Regions from separate parts of the Homo sapiens genome. Here region 1 is linked to region 2. Evidence: promoter capture Hi-C in 16 types of primary human blood cells and fetal thymus (Javierre and others, 2016). All regions are on one chromosome and are shown on one strand. The core of a region is centred on a gene start or on the middle of the fragment in contact, and the rest is flanking DNA. Distances in the headings are between cores, read along the strand shown. Region 1 overlaps VRTN (vertebrae development associated). Region 2 holds the start of LTBP2 (latent transforming growth factor beta binding protein 2).

Region 1 (7,478 bases), core at 2,961-5,460, 260 kb after region 2:
GGGCCACCGAGTCCACTTCCAGCACCTGGAGGCCAGGGCCTCCCTCCCGGCAGGTGGGGAGAGTGAAGGAAGACAGGACCTGCTTGGCCTCCAAGGAAGCACCTATGAGACCCTCCAGGCCTTCGCACTCCACTGCTTCCTGCAGCTCCTGCAGCACCTTCTGCACCAGCTGGTTCCGAGAAGTCATCCTGCCAGGGCAAAAGATAAAGGGGCAGTAGTCAGGTCGAAGTGCCCAGATGATGACTAGCAAAGGTGCCCTGTCCACTCCTGCACTTTCTCCCAAAAGGTAATGTCTATCTGCTCCCGTCCTCCCACAACAGACGGGATTGGTTCATCACTGAATGGTACTGAGGAAAAGTGTGGTCTCTAGAACCTGGCTTTGAATCCTGGCTCTGACATAAGCTTGGTCACCTTGGATCACTTAACCTCTCTATGCTTCTGTTCATTTTCTATAAAATGGGAATGGTGTGTTAAAATCTGCTTTATAGGCCAGGCACGGTGGCTTACACCTGTAATCCTAGCACTTTGGGAGGCCAAGGCAGATGAATCACTTGAGGGCAGGAGTTCGAGACCAGCCTGGCCAACATGGTGAAACCCCATCTCTACTAAAAATACAAAAATTTGCCAGGCATAGTGGCAAGAGCCTGTAATCCCAGCTACTCTGGAGGCTAGGGCAGAAGAATCACTTAAACCCAGGAGGCAGAGGTTGCAGTGAGCTGAGTTAGAGCCACTGCACTCCAGCCTGGGCAACAAAGTGAGACTGTCTCCAAAAGGGAAAAAAAAATTAATAAAATATGCTTGAGTTGTTCTGGGCATAAATGAGACAATAAAGAGATGTTGGCTGGGCGTGGTGGCTCATGCCTGTAATCTTAGCACTTTGGGAGGCTGAGGTGGGTGGACTGCTTGAGTCCAGGAGTTCAAGACCAGCCTGAGCAACATGGCAAAACCCCATCTCTACAAAAAATACAAAAATTAGCTGGGCACAGTGGCATGTGCCTATAGTCCCGGCTACTTGGGAGGCTGAGGCAGGAGGATCATCTGAGCCTGGGAATCCGAGGCTGCAGTGAGCAATGCTCGCACCACTGCACTCCAGCCAGGGTGACAGGAATGAGACTCTGTCTCAGAAAAAAAAAAAAAGAGAGAGGCCAGGTGCAGTGGCTCATGCACTTTGGGAGGCTGAGGCAGGCAGATCACTTAAGGTCAGGAGTTTGAGGCCAGCCTGGCCAACATAGTGAAACCCCATTGCTACTAAAAATACAAAAAAAAAAGTTAGCCAGGCATGGTGGAATGCACCTGTAATCTCAGCTACTCAGGAGGCTGAGGCACGAGAATCACTTGAACTTGGGAGGTGGAGGCCGCACTGAGTAGAGATCATGCCACTGTGCTCAAGCATGGGTGACAGACCGAGACTCTGTCTCAAATAAATAAATAAATGATGCTATTTTTTTTTTAAAGAAAAGAAAGAAAACCGTTATCCTTAAGTACATGTCGTTTTCAATACTGGGTGTAATCAAATGGGGCATACTTATAACACGCTTGCTGCAACCCGAGGTATGATGAATGTCTCCATTGGATGATTGTTCTGCTTTTCTGATAAATTAGCTCCCTTTAGCATGATATACAATTTTTACTTGAAAGAAAGTCTAATAGACACTGGTCATTCAGATTTGGATATATTTGGCAGATATTTTCTCAAAAATGAATGAAGTGAGACTGTAATTTCAAGGGAAACAACTATTTGCTGCCCATAAAAACTTATCAGCTTCCATCTGAAAATCTCAATTTTTCTGATGAGATCAGTGGTGACAATTTTTTTTTTTTTTTTTTTTGAGACTGAGTCTCGTTCTGTCACCCAGGCTGGAGTGCAGGGGCGCAATCTCAACTGGCTGCAACCTCTACCTCCCGGGTTCAAGAGATTTGCCTGCCTCAGCCACCCGAGTAGCTGGGATTACAGGCGCATGCCACCATGCCCAGCTAATTTTTGTAATTTTAGTAGAGACGGGGTTTCACCATGTTGGCCAGGCTGGTCTCAAACTCCTGACCTCAAATGATCTGCCCGCCTCAGGTTCCCAAAGTGCTGGGATTACAGGTGTGAGCCGTCACGCCCAGCCCTAACAAATATAATTTTTTATGCTGTATAATGAATTGTCAATTGTTTCCACTAAAGATCTACATCACTCAGTGAACATTTTCCAAATAGCCAATGGGTGCTGTTACAAAGTCATGCACTTGTAGAAGAATCATTCAAAGTATAAAAGAAACCCATGGGGCTGGGTGTGGTGGCTCACACCTGTAATCCCAGCACTTTGGGAGGCCGACACGGGCGGACCACGAGCTCAGGAGATCGAGACCATCCTGGCCAATGTGGTGAAACCCCGTCTCTACTAAAAATACAAAAATTAGCCAGGAGTGGCAGCACATGCCTGTGGTCCCAGCTACTCAGGAGGCTGAGGCAGGAGAATTGCTTGAACCCGGGAGGCAGAGGCTGCAGTGAGCCAAGATTGCATCACTGCACTCCACCCTGGGGACAGAGCGAGACTCCATCTCAAAAAAAAAAAAGACCCATGGATTTTAATATAACAGGGTACAAAAAGTTCATGGATATGGTTTCAAATTCCACATTATAACTAAGCTTTGAGAAGCTACTACTTGTAAAGTTTTGGTATAATATCAAAAAAATCCACTGAAAAAGTGATCAAAATACTCCTCCTTTTTCCATCTATATATCTGATGAAGTTAGATTTTCTTCAGATGCTTCCACCAAAACAATATATCAAAACAGATTGAATATAGAAAGATATGAGAAAGTACTCATCTTCTTTTAAACCAAATACTATGGAGATACAGAAAAATGTAAAATGTAAAAATGTAGAATAATGTGCTCTCGGACATTATTTAACATTTTTCCAAGTCTCCATAGTATCTGGTTTAAAAGAAGATAGGCCGAGGCAGGCAGATCACTTGAGGTCGGGAGTTCAAGACCAGCCTGGCTAACATGGTGAAACTCTGTCTCTACTAAAAATACAAAAATCCATCCTGGCTAGCATGGTGAAAGCCCGTCTCCACTAAAAATACAAAAAATTAGCCGGGCACGCTGGCGGGCGCCTCTAGTCCCAGCTACTCGGGAGGCTGAGGCAGGAGAATGGCGTGAACCCGGGAGGCGGAGCTTACAGTGAGCCAAGATCACGCCACTGCAGTCCAGCCTGGACGACAGAGTGAGACTCCATCTCAAAAAAAAAAAAGTAGTTTTTTTGCTCTGGAAATGTCACTTCTCATAAAAATGATTATTTGTTACTGTATAACAGGCTTTTTAAAATTTATTTCTTATTTTTAATTTTGTGTACAATATACACTGGTAGATATAACCTATATAAACAAAAGGTTTTCAGGGTCTGCAGACCGTACAGGAGTCCTGAAACCAAAAAGTTTGAGAAGTGCTGCCCCAGAAACAGCCTTTCAAAGGGGTAGCAACAATCTATTCACTGCACAAAGATCTAATAACTATGATTTACTGAGCATTTACTATTTGCCATGCACTGTCCTAATCCTGACACTAATACTTTAAGTACTACCATTATCCCCAATTTACAGGTGAGGAAACTGAGGCAACTGAAGTTAACCTAATTTGCCCAAGGTCACAATACAAGTTAGTTGAAACCAAACACTTTTTTTCTTTTTTTTTGAGACAGAATCTCACTCTATCACCCAGGCTGGGGTACAGTGGCTCATTCTTTGCTCACTACAACCTCCGCCCCCAGGGTTCAAGCGATTCTCCTGCCTCAACCTCCAGAGTAACTAGGACTGTAGGCACATGCCACCACGCCCAGCTTATGTTGTAGAGATGGGGTTTCACCATGTCCGACAGGGTGGTCTCATGGTCTCAAACTCCTGACCTCAGGTGATCCACCCACCTTGGCCTCCCAAAGTGCTGGGATTACAGGCGTGAGCCACCATGCCTGGCCCCAGATGCTCTTTAGGGTCTGTGATTCATCTCCTGTTCAAACCATTAACCACCTTTTAACACAAAACTAATCATCTCAATTATTGGTATGTTTTTATTGTTCAGTTGCAAAGCAGAGTGGTATTCCTTCATAGACACTTTTTACATTAGGGGAGGGACCATTATCCTTTCTGGTTTCTCAGATCATGTTCTCAAATTAAACTTGTTCTCAGAGTTCAATAAATTGCTTTAGATGACCCTTAGGTTTAAAAATGGTGTTTGGGTATATACATTTTTCAGATCAAACTGTACGCTTAAGGCCAGGCGTGGTGGCACACGCCTATAATCCCAGCACTTTGGGAGGCTGAGGCAGGAAGATTACTTGAGCATAGTTCGAGGTTACAGTGAGCTATGATCACGCCACCGGACTTCAGCCTGAGCAACAGAGGAGACTGTCCCCAAAAAGCAAAACAAAACAAAAAAGCTACATTTGAAAGGAGTGGATGAATGCAAATTGTAATTTAGTAAAAATGTTTTAAAAAATTAAAAGTAGGGCTGGGGCGCAGTGGCTCACACCTGTAATCCCAGCACTTTGGGAGGCTGAGGCAGGTGGATCACGAGATCAGGAGTTCATGACCAGCCTGGCCAAGATGGTGAAACCCCATCTCTACTAAAAATGCAAAAATTAGCCAGGTGCAGTGGCAGGTGCCTGTTATCCCAGCTACTCGGGAGGCCGAGGCAGAAGAATTGGTTGAACCTGGGCAGCAGAGGTTGCAGTGAGCCGAGATCGCCCACCGCACTCCAGCCTGGGTGACAGAGTGAGACTCCATCTCAAAAATAAAAAATAAAACATAAATAAAAAAAATTAAAAGTACTGAGGCCGGGCATGGTGGTGGCTCAGGCCTGTAATCCCAGCACTTTGGGAGGACGAGGCAGGCGGATCACAAGGTCAAGAGATCAAGACCATCCTGGACAACATGGTGAAACCCTGTGTCTACTAAAAATACAAAAAAAAAATAATTAGCTGGGCATGGTGGCCCGCGCCTGTAGTCCCAGCTACTCGGGAGGCTGAGGCAGGAGAATCACTTGAACCCAAGAGACGGAGGTTGCAGTGAGCCAAGATCGCACCACTGTACTCTAGCCTGGAAACAGAGCGAGACTCCGTCTCAAAAAAAAAAGTACTGAGGGAACAGCCACCAGAATTTTACTTGATAACCAAAGAAGGAAAGTCGTTTAAAAATTGGTAATCAGCCCAAGTGCAGTGGCTCATGCCTGTAATCCCAGAACTTTGGGAGGCTGAAGTGGGCAGATAGCTTGAGCCCTAGGAGTTAGAGACCAGCCTGGACAACATAACATAACCCCATCTCTACGGAAAAAAAAAAATTAGCCTGCATAGTAGCATGTGCCTGTAGTCCCAGCTACTCAGGAGGCTGAGGTGGATAACCTGAGCCTCAGGGGACTGAGATTATGCCACTGCACTCCAGCCCGGGTGTCAGAGTGAGACTGTCTTAAAAAAAAAAAAAAAAAAAAAAAAACCTGGTAATCAGAATCACCTTTGGACAAAATTTCTAGGCTGTGGATTTCTTTAAAATGTGTATATTATAACAAATCTGGTATAACCTCTCACCATATTTCTATTTGTACCATATCATTTAACTCTAGAAGTTGGCTTTTATTAATCTGTCAACTTTTATGCCTTTTATATTTACTTTAAAAAGAAAACTATTACTTTTCTTTGGATTCAGGAGATAATCCATATCAGTCCTTAGTAAAGACAGCACTTAACATTATACAATTTTTAAAAAAGGAATCCTGAAGAACAAACTGTGTACACACAGACAAGCTTTTTCATTTTGGCAGACAATGATGTCAACAAGCAAGACGTTGGGTTTTTGTTTTTCTTGCATTATGTCACTTGTTGAATGCTATTTTACAACTGCATACAAATGAGTGCTCTGCTAGATACTTTGTAAACAAAATTAGGAAAATAGCTACCATTTACTGACTGCTTCCTATGTGCATTTAACTAGGTAATTCAACCAAAATCTCAGGAAAAACAAGAGGGAACAATATACTGAAGCTGTGTGGATATTTTTATACCCTTACACGCAATTAGCCGATTTCCTGAGGAGAGCATGATGTTCCCTGAAGTGTTAACAAGTATCTGCCAGCTTTTCACCCTCAAGCATTTGGAGTTCAGGCTTTTCAGTGGTAATTTTGTTTATATGTGGTTCTCACCTTCCTTCCATGTGAACTACAATTCCATCACACCTACGCTATCTACAGGATCCCTAGTCCGAGTTCACACCTGGAGGTTCCGGGTTTACATTAAGTAGCTTTCGCAAGACCACACAGCTTTTAAAAGCTACAAAGTCTAAGCAGCCTGACTCTCAAGCTCCCTTTCTAAGCACTATAATTCCATCATCCAAAATTCTCATTATCCAATGGATCCAGAAACTTATGGATTTTTAGGACTTTAAGACAAACCTGGCCATTTTACAGATAAGGAAATTGAGGTCCACAAAGGTAGAGTCGACTTGCCTGAATTCATGCAGCAGTGTCCAGATACCTTCCAACACAACGTCCAGATATGCCACACTTCCTCTTGCACAGTCCCCACCTGTCCCCACCCTCCTCGTCCCACCCTATCTACTCTTCCCAGGCCCAGTTCCACCCGGCTCCACCCAATTTCATTCCTTTCTCTTCCCCAAAGAGGTAGGAGGTACAAGTATGTGATACCCCACTTCTGGCTTCCTCAAAAGCTTAAGGAAAAGCAGCTCCACACTCACTCCCAACCCACAGATGGATTCGCCCACCAGAGAATAGGGCCGTGTGGAAAGGGTAGGGGCTGCACGGGGAAGCCTATCACTCTTAAGTAGACAATTGATGATGGGGTTCAGGTGCAACAGTCTTTTTGGCAATGGCTCTCTTCCTAGAAGTGCAATGCAAAGCAGACAAGCCGGTTGCCAGGTGCATTCAGGGAAGGAGGTGCAAAAAGTGATAGCTAATCTATGGACTTTGCCCAGCTGGCCTGCCCTGGCCCCCACAACTCTTGGAAGTGATCTGAAAAGGTATGAAACCAAGGAGGCAAGGCACACTCGGGATTGCACAGGCTCATCCCCTCCTCTTGCCTGAGATTAGAAGGGCGGGGGTAAAGGCAGGACATCCAGAGGCATCCAGCCAGGATCTTAGCTCCAGTAAAGCCAAGGAATGAATGAATGGCCACAGGCTACTCTGCAGGGCACTCACAGCCTCGCCTTCACCAAGGTCAGCCTCCCCGCTCCCCCATTCTTTATTTCAAGCATATGGGGTCTCAGAACCCAGGTCTGGCCTCTTGTCCCCTGCGTCTTAAGAGTGAGCCAGGAATCTGGGTGGGCCAAGGGATGGAGGGGCAAGAGATCTGCTGTTATGAGCCTGGCCTGGTCTTTAGAACAAAATCCTTCCCCACCAGCCTCATTCTGGGCTCTAGCTTACCATGGATCCCATGTTCTCAGCCCTCCCTTTTCTTCCTCTCCCTCCCAAAGCAGGCGCTGTGTTC
Region 2 (6,850 bases), core at 4,323-6,822:
AATAAATGAAATATCAGTTGGTAAATGGAGGAGTAGTAATTGACACCTGCCCCTAGCCCCATGACAGGGTAAACAGGGCTGGCTAGCTAGTTTGTCCTGAAGAGAAAAATGGCAAAAAGAACATCATTATCTCAACTTTCAGATAAGAAAGTAGAAGCCAAATGAAGCTCAGAACTGTGCTGCATTCACAGAAGACGGAAATGAGCTCAGAACTGTGCTCCGCTCACAGAAGACGTAAATGTTCACCACATGTTTGTGGGAGGGCCCTTTCCAGCACACTCTGAAATACAGGCCAGCTCACCTTACCTTTGCAGGAACATCCATACCATGGCTATCACCACCAGCCAGCATGTCATACCCACTTGGAGGAGACAGGCACCGGCAGACCAGGGCAGGGTGGTTGTGAATTCTTGAGGGGACGCCAGGTCATGGCACCTAAGGTGGAATGGTTCTGGCAGCCTTTGCGGGCCTTAACAACCTCACACAGGAGGGAGTCGGCACCTCTCTGTACGGCCTGCACCTTCCAAACTGGAGGCTGAGGCTGCGCAGTGCTGGGGTCCCAGCTGCCCAGTGTCTGGAGCAGAACATCCAAGCCCATGAGCGGCTCCCGTCTGGAAGGCTGGGGGCCCAGTCAAACTTTCCTTCAGCGATTCTGCCCTCTGATTAACCAGGAAATGTGTTATTTGTTCTGAGCAGGGGAACAAGCTCTCCTGGGGAGAGGAATTCAGGGCTGGAGGTCCAGTTACTTCCAAGCAAGAAAAATCCCTGGAATTCTTTCAGGAGTCTGGGTCTCAGCAAAGGGGGCCGAAATGTGGCCCTTGTTTTTGGTCCTTATTTACCAAATTAGCTCAGGTTCTGGTAGACCTCTGGCTGCCAACATTATTCCAGTGAGACATGGAAAAGCAGTGAGTTTGCCCTGGGAGTCCAGGAGACTGCTGTCCCTTGCATGGGGCATGTGTCTGGGCAAACCTTTCCCTGCTGGAATCTCTTTATCAACCCTTTAGACTCTCTCTGCCGGGTTTTCCAGAGATGATTTTCCTCTCCAGACCCAAGAGATGGGTGAGTAGGCTTAGCAGCGATCTAATGAGGGAGAAGGCTTTAATCAGGGGGTGGGGAAGTGACACACGGTGAGTCAGCGGCCATGCTGAAACAGCTTCCCTTCTTTCACTGGGCCAAGAGGATTAAGGGTGGCAGAAAGTTCTGATAACTCCACATCTCCAGGTACATGAGCTCCAGGTACATGAACAGTGGGCTGGCAGGCAGGGAAGAGGGCATTTGGGGATATGCCCTAGAGCTCCTTTGGTGGTGATAGTGGTGGGGTGGTTGGAAAGGTCATGATTCAATTGTGAAGAGGGCTCCAGGCTTACAAGCCCGGGGTGGAGGCAAGGCGGTGTAACCTTAAAAGCTTGGGCTCAGGTGGAAAATGATCCAGGTTTGAATCCTGCCTCTGCTATTTATCAGCTGTGCCATCTTGGGCAAGCCAGTAGCCATTGCCAACCTCAGTTTCCTCCTTTGTATGCGTGGAAATCATAATGCCTCCTTTGGTTGGTTAAATCAGCCAATTGATGTAACATGCTTAGTATGGCGTTTGGACTAAAGTAGGCTCTATCGATTTTGGCAGGTTAAAAAAAAAAAGCAAAACTCAAGTGTTTGTGGGATTGGAGATTCTGAAGAGCTGCAATCAGTCCCAGCAGTTAGAGGGTAAGGGAGATATGGGCAGTAAGTAGGTGGCAGGACAGAGTGTGGCGCCGGGATGGGGTAGAAGATGCCAGTCTTTGGAGTAGATGAACTGGGTTATGGTCCCCAGGCGAACAGGGTGGGAACGTCCAAGGACCACTTGTACTCACTGAGGAGTGGAAGGGGCGCCCGATGGTGAGGGAAAGTTGGTCTGCGTGAGGGTTTTGGCGGAGGCGAAGGGTGAGGGATGAATGGGCGGCAGACTTCCAGAAATGCAGACGGAGGAGACGGAGCAGTAATAATGACTTGGACACACAGGAGGAAAAAATAGCTCAGGGACGAAGATGATGCCAAGGTTTCTGGCTTTTGGAGGCCCACGGGGATCTGAGGTGGGTCTTGAGGGATCTAGAGGGGAGCTTCTGAAGGAAGTGGGTAGGTTCCGGGGAGAGGAAGGGAGCCCAGAACTACAGAGGTGGGTGGATATCTGGGCAAGGAGAGGTAAGTGTGGACCTGGGGCTTCCACAGCTGTGAAGGAGCAGCATCCCAGGAACAGAACGCAGCATTCTGGGAACTAAGGGGCATTCATGGTCAAATGCAAGGGGTAGGGTTCAAGGAGATCTTTAGAGCCAGCCCCAAAGGCAGCAAGCACATGAACCTGGATCAGGAGCTGCCACCCAGAACTCAGTTCCTCTCTCTTAAAATGGGTCTAATGATACCAGCCCTCCCCACTTGATGGGATTACTGTGTCCTTCATTCAGTTAGCTATCCATTTCACACATACTTCTTGGCTGTTCTAGGTTCTGCAGAAACAGTGGTGAGCAACGCAGACAAGATATCTGTTGCTTTAGAGCTGTCATTGTGGTTTGGGAAGTCAGACAAGAAATGATTTTATAGGTTGTTGAATAGGACTTTTCCTCTGCTCTTGGAATATCTGCTGAAGCCACAAAGATAGAACAATGAGGGCTAAATATTCTTGCATTCTGAAGAGAAGTACTAGACACCTTACTAAAGGCAGAACAGGTTCAACAGCAATCAAACTACATCCCTCAATTCCAGTCTACAAATGAAAGGGATTGAAGAAAGTCACTGAAGCATAACACTGCTGCATTTGTGGGCAGGGCTGAGATTTCCCCTGAGGGAACTCCCCAACTCAAACCAAATGAAGGGAGCTCCCAGAGAGAACCAGTCATCTGCAAGAAGAGGAGGCTCTGTCCCTATAACTGTCCCCCCACTGATGCTGACTATGTTGCTGGATGTTACAGGCACCTCGGTGCATTAAACTACAGCAAGACAGTTCATGGGAGAACCCAACATATGTCTTTAGGAATTGAGGACGTACATAAATGAAGAGACTTGTGTGCACTTCCTGTCTGGAGAATTCTGATCGTGGAGCCTCGCTGGAGTGGCCTGTGTGGCAAGGTGAGAAGTGGGCAGGGTGAGGAGCGGCCAACCCACCATTGTTTTGCCTGGCATAGGTGGGACAGTCCTATGAGAGACAGAGGATGCAGGGGTCTCCGAGAGGTTGGCCAGAGAGTAATTTGCTATGGCAACTCAGGGTGGAGGTCCTGTAGAGAACCTCCCAAAAACCCACATATGTGCCCATGAAAAAGCCAGCGCTTGGCACCTGCCAACCAAGGGTACCTGTCACATAAGACTTTGCTACTTTTCCTCTAACACCTCTCTCCCAGCCTTGACAAAGAGGAGCCACAGCAGAAAAGGGAGGTCAGGAAAACAGACCACACCCCACTCTCACCACTGCAGGATCTCTAGCAAAGGGACAGGGGAGAGGAGGACTATTAAATGGGATGTGATATTGATTAACTTGGATGAGATTTTGATCTGGACAGGAGCAGACTTTTTGTGTCTGAAAATGGGTCTTAATTATATTAATAGAATAGTTCTCGTGTCTGGTAGGGATGACCTCTCAAGCCAAGGACTCTGCCTGAGATGTCATTAAGGGTGGGAAAGGGAAATTTACCATAATATGGTTGAAGGTAGTAGTGGAGCAGTTTCTGGATAGTCCCTCTTTAGGTTCAGCCCATTAAAAAATTCAGTTACACGAGCAAACAAATCAATAACAAGATGATGTCAACTGTTTTATGAAGATGAAACAGGGTGGTGTGTTAGAGTCATGACTGGGGTGAGGGAGGGCTGCTCTAGATTGGAGGTCAGGGATGGCTACTCCAGGAGCTGATATTTAATCTGAGAGGAGCAGTGATGAGGAACTACCCTCTAACATCCTGGAGAGGAACCTTCCAGTAGAGGGAAGGGGGCATTCACTTGGCTTGTTCAAGGAGCAGAGAGAGGGCCAAGGCAGCACAGTGTGGTGGGTAAGGGAGAGCAAGAGGCCAGATGAAATCAGAGCGGGGGCAGCCAGCTAGGGTTTGTAGGCCAAGGCCAGGGGTCGAGGCTTTATTTCAACAGTAGATATTACCTGGGCTTGTCTTTTGTGTGGTGTGGGAGGTTGTGAACTGGTGCCCACATGCCAGCTCCTTCACTCTGCCTCTCTGGGAAATAGGCTGTACAAATGTGCCAGGGGCAGCCCTGTTGATCCAAGCCTTTAGGCTGTAGGGAGGGAGCATGGGTGAGAATGGTGTGCTGATTACTGGGGACACGCAGACAGCGGCAGTCAGCATTCCCACACCCCTGCCCGCCTCCCTGCTAACACAAGATGTGAATGCACACACTGGGTCAATCGGGGTCACCGAATCCCCCTCTGGGAAATTCCCGAGAGAGTGAAGGGCTGGGTGGGATCCCGGGAATGGATTCAGCCAGAGGCGGGAGGCCTAGATTCCACTCCCCTCTTTCACATGCGCTATCTCCTTGAGTGACTTACTCAAGAGGCTCCGTGTCTTTGCCTCGGTGAAAAAGAGGACCCCTTGGCCGGGCGTGGTGGCTCACGCCTTTAATCCCAGCACTTTGGGAGGCCGAGGCGGGCGGATCACCTGAGGTTGGGAGTTCGAGACCAGCCTGACCAACATGGAGAAACCCCGTCTGTACTAAAAAATAAAATAATATACAAAATTAGTCAGACTTGGTGGCGCATGCCTGTAATCCCAGCTACTAGGGAGGCTGAGGCAGGGGAATCGCTTGAACCCGGGAGGCGGAGGTTGCGGGGAGCTGAGATCGCACCATTGCACTCCAGCCTGGGCAACAAGAGCGAAACTCCGTCTCAAAAAAAAGAAAGAAAGAAAGAAAGAAAAGAAAAAGAAAAAGAAAAAGAGGACCCCTCTTCTACCGGCAGCCATCACCGCGCCAGGCTCAGGCGTGACCCTCACGCCAGTGGAAGGGGATTGAGATCCAGAGCGAAGGCGGCGGCGCCAGGGCATTGCAGCCACGGAGCGCCAGGGCCGCCAGCTCCGCCAGGGGGCGCGCCCGGGACCTCCCTGCGCTCCGCGCGCCGCGCCCCGCCCCGCGCCACCCCCGCTCCGGCCGGCCCTGCGGAGGGCGCCCCCAGCGGCCAGGGCGCAAGCGGAGGGGGCGGCGGCCCTGTTCCCCTACGCGGGCCTCGGCGCCCCTCCCGGCTTCCTTCAGACCTGCAAGGCTGCAGCCTGGGTCCCCCGATCCAAAGACGGTCCCTGAGGCGAGGGGCGGGAGAACGATTCGGGGCAGGTCTGCAGTTCGAACTTGCCCAGAGCAGGAGAAAGGCGGCCCAGTGTCCCGGTCGTGGCAGGCGCCATCTGCCCGACCAGCGCCTGGGTCAGCCCCGCGCCGCCCCCTGCTCCGCACGGGTTAATCCCCCTCGCCGCCCGCTCGCCGCCCGCTGGCTTCCCGGTGCCAAAGTGGGTGTTGCTGGAATTCCTCGCTCCCTCTCCGGTAATGAGGGGGCTGAGCTGTCCCTCCGAGGAGGGGGCCTGGTGTGGATAAAAGAGACGAAAAAGCCGGGGGAGGTTTCCAAAAATAAAACCGTCCGGGTCCCCTTCAGACGGCTGCAGGCACAGGGAGGAGGCGCGAAGGTGCAGCAGCCGTGCGAGCCCAGCTGGAGTAGGAGCGCGGACTCGAGGCTCGGGGCGCGCAGCCCTCGTTCCGCCGAGAGCCGGGCCCCCAGTCGGCCGCTTCAGGGCCCCCTAGACTCAGAGAAGCTGGCCGCCGGGCGGGGCCGGGAGAACAGCCCGCGGGCGTCCAGCGTGCCGACCACAAAGCTCTTCGCGGTGCCCGCGCGCACCACTCTCCAGCCGCCCCGCGCCATGAGGCCGCGGACCAAAGCCCGCAGCCCGGGGCGCGCCCTGCGGAACCCCTGGAGAGGCTTCCTGCCGCTCACCCTGGCTCTCTTCGTGGGCGCGGGTCATGCCCAAAGGGACCCCGTAGGGAGATACGAGCCGGCTGGTGGAGACGCGAATCGACTGCGGCGCCCTGGGGGCAGCTACCCGGCAGCGGCTGCAGCCAAGGTGTACAGTCTGTTCCGGGAGCAGGACGCGCCTGTCGCGGGCTTGCAGCCCGTGGAGCGGGCCCAGCCGGGCTGGGGGAGCCCCAGGAGGCCCACCGAGGCGGAGGCCAGGAGGCCGTCCCGCGCGCAGCAGTCGCGGCGTGTCCAGCCACCTGCGCAGACCCGGAGAAGCACTCCCCTGGGCCAGCAGCAACCAGCACCCCGGACCCGGGCCGCGCCGGCTCTCCCACGCCTGGGGACCCCACAGCGGTCTGGGGCTGCGCCCCCAACCCCGCCGCGAGGGCGGCTCACGGGGTGAGCATGGGAGAGGGAAGTTTGGAGGGTACAGAGGGGAGCCAGGGCTCATTTGTGGAGGGGCGTGCAGGCGAGAGGAGAGGGCGCCGCTCTCATACCCTCGTCCCTCTGTCTTTAGTACTTCGGGAAACAGCCCCGAGGTTCCAAAATCGGGATTGGAAGATTTGATCCGCTTTCGAAGAGTTGAAGGCAGATAGATCATCATCCTCATCCTTTCTTACCAACTCTCCCGGAGCCCCGACGTTAAATCCTTTCGCAAGGCGCCTCTCCACTCGCCCGCGTTCCTCCTGCCTGCAACTAACGAGCTCTTGTAGACTCTTGCAGCGCTGCCGGGATCTGAGAGGCAGCGGGGAGAGGGCAGGAGGGTGGGCGCTCCAGGCTCTTGACGCCCAGGGGAGGTTGAGCTGGCTCAGAGCGCGGGTTGGCGGAGGTGTCGGGGGCCCCATGGAGAGAAGGTAGATGCGTCTCCAGGAGGGGAGCCGGCAGCGAAGC

What was found. The method cuts DNA at HindIII sites, captures the fragments that hold promoters and counts their contacts. A CHiCAGO score of 5 or more calls a contact.
Region 1: a contact is called between a fragment that was not itself captured here and the fragment with the promoter of LTBP2 in region 2, in 3 of 17 cell types (M2 macrophages, M0 macrophages and naive B cells). The highest score is 5.9, in M2 macrophages.

Annotation. Positions count from the first base shown.
Region 1 is chr14:74,349,493-74,356,970 of GRCh38, reverse strand. It overlaps VRTN (vertebrae development associated), which reads right to left. Exons shown (of 2, transcript NM_018228.3): 2 at 1-188. The coding sequence starts at 187. Among named protein-coding and RNA genes, the nearest start is that of VRTN, 4.8 kb to the right of the region's middle. RefSeq lists an enhancer at 6,737-7,478. The HindIII fragment of the contact is 3,151 bases long and covers 2,635-5,785 here.
Region 2 is chr14:74,610,959-74,617,808 of GRCh38, reverse strand. LTBP2 (latent transforming growth factor beta binding protein 2) reads left to right here and starts at 5,572. Exons shown (of 36, transcript NM_000428.3): 1 at 5,572-6,358. The coding sequence starts at 5,865. It overlaps LOC101928352 (a long non-coding RNA gene), which reads right to left and starts at 4,624. Exons shown (of 2, transcript XR_944029.4): 1 at 4,514-4,624; 2 at 3,761-4,242. RefSeq lists enhancers at 1-280, 4,889-5,516 and a silencer at 4,942-5,261. The HindIII fragment of the contact is 11,176 bases long and covers 1,408-6,850 here.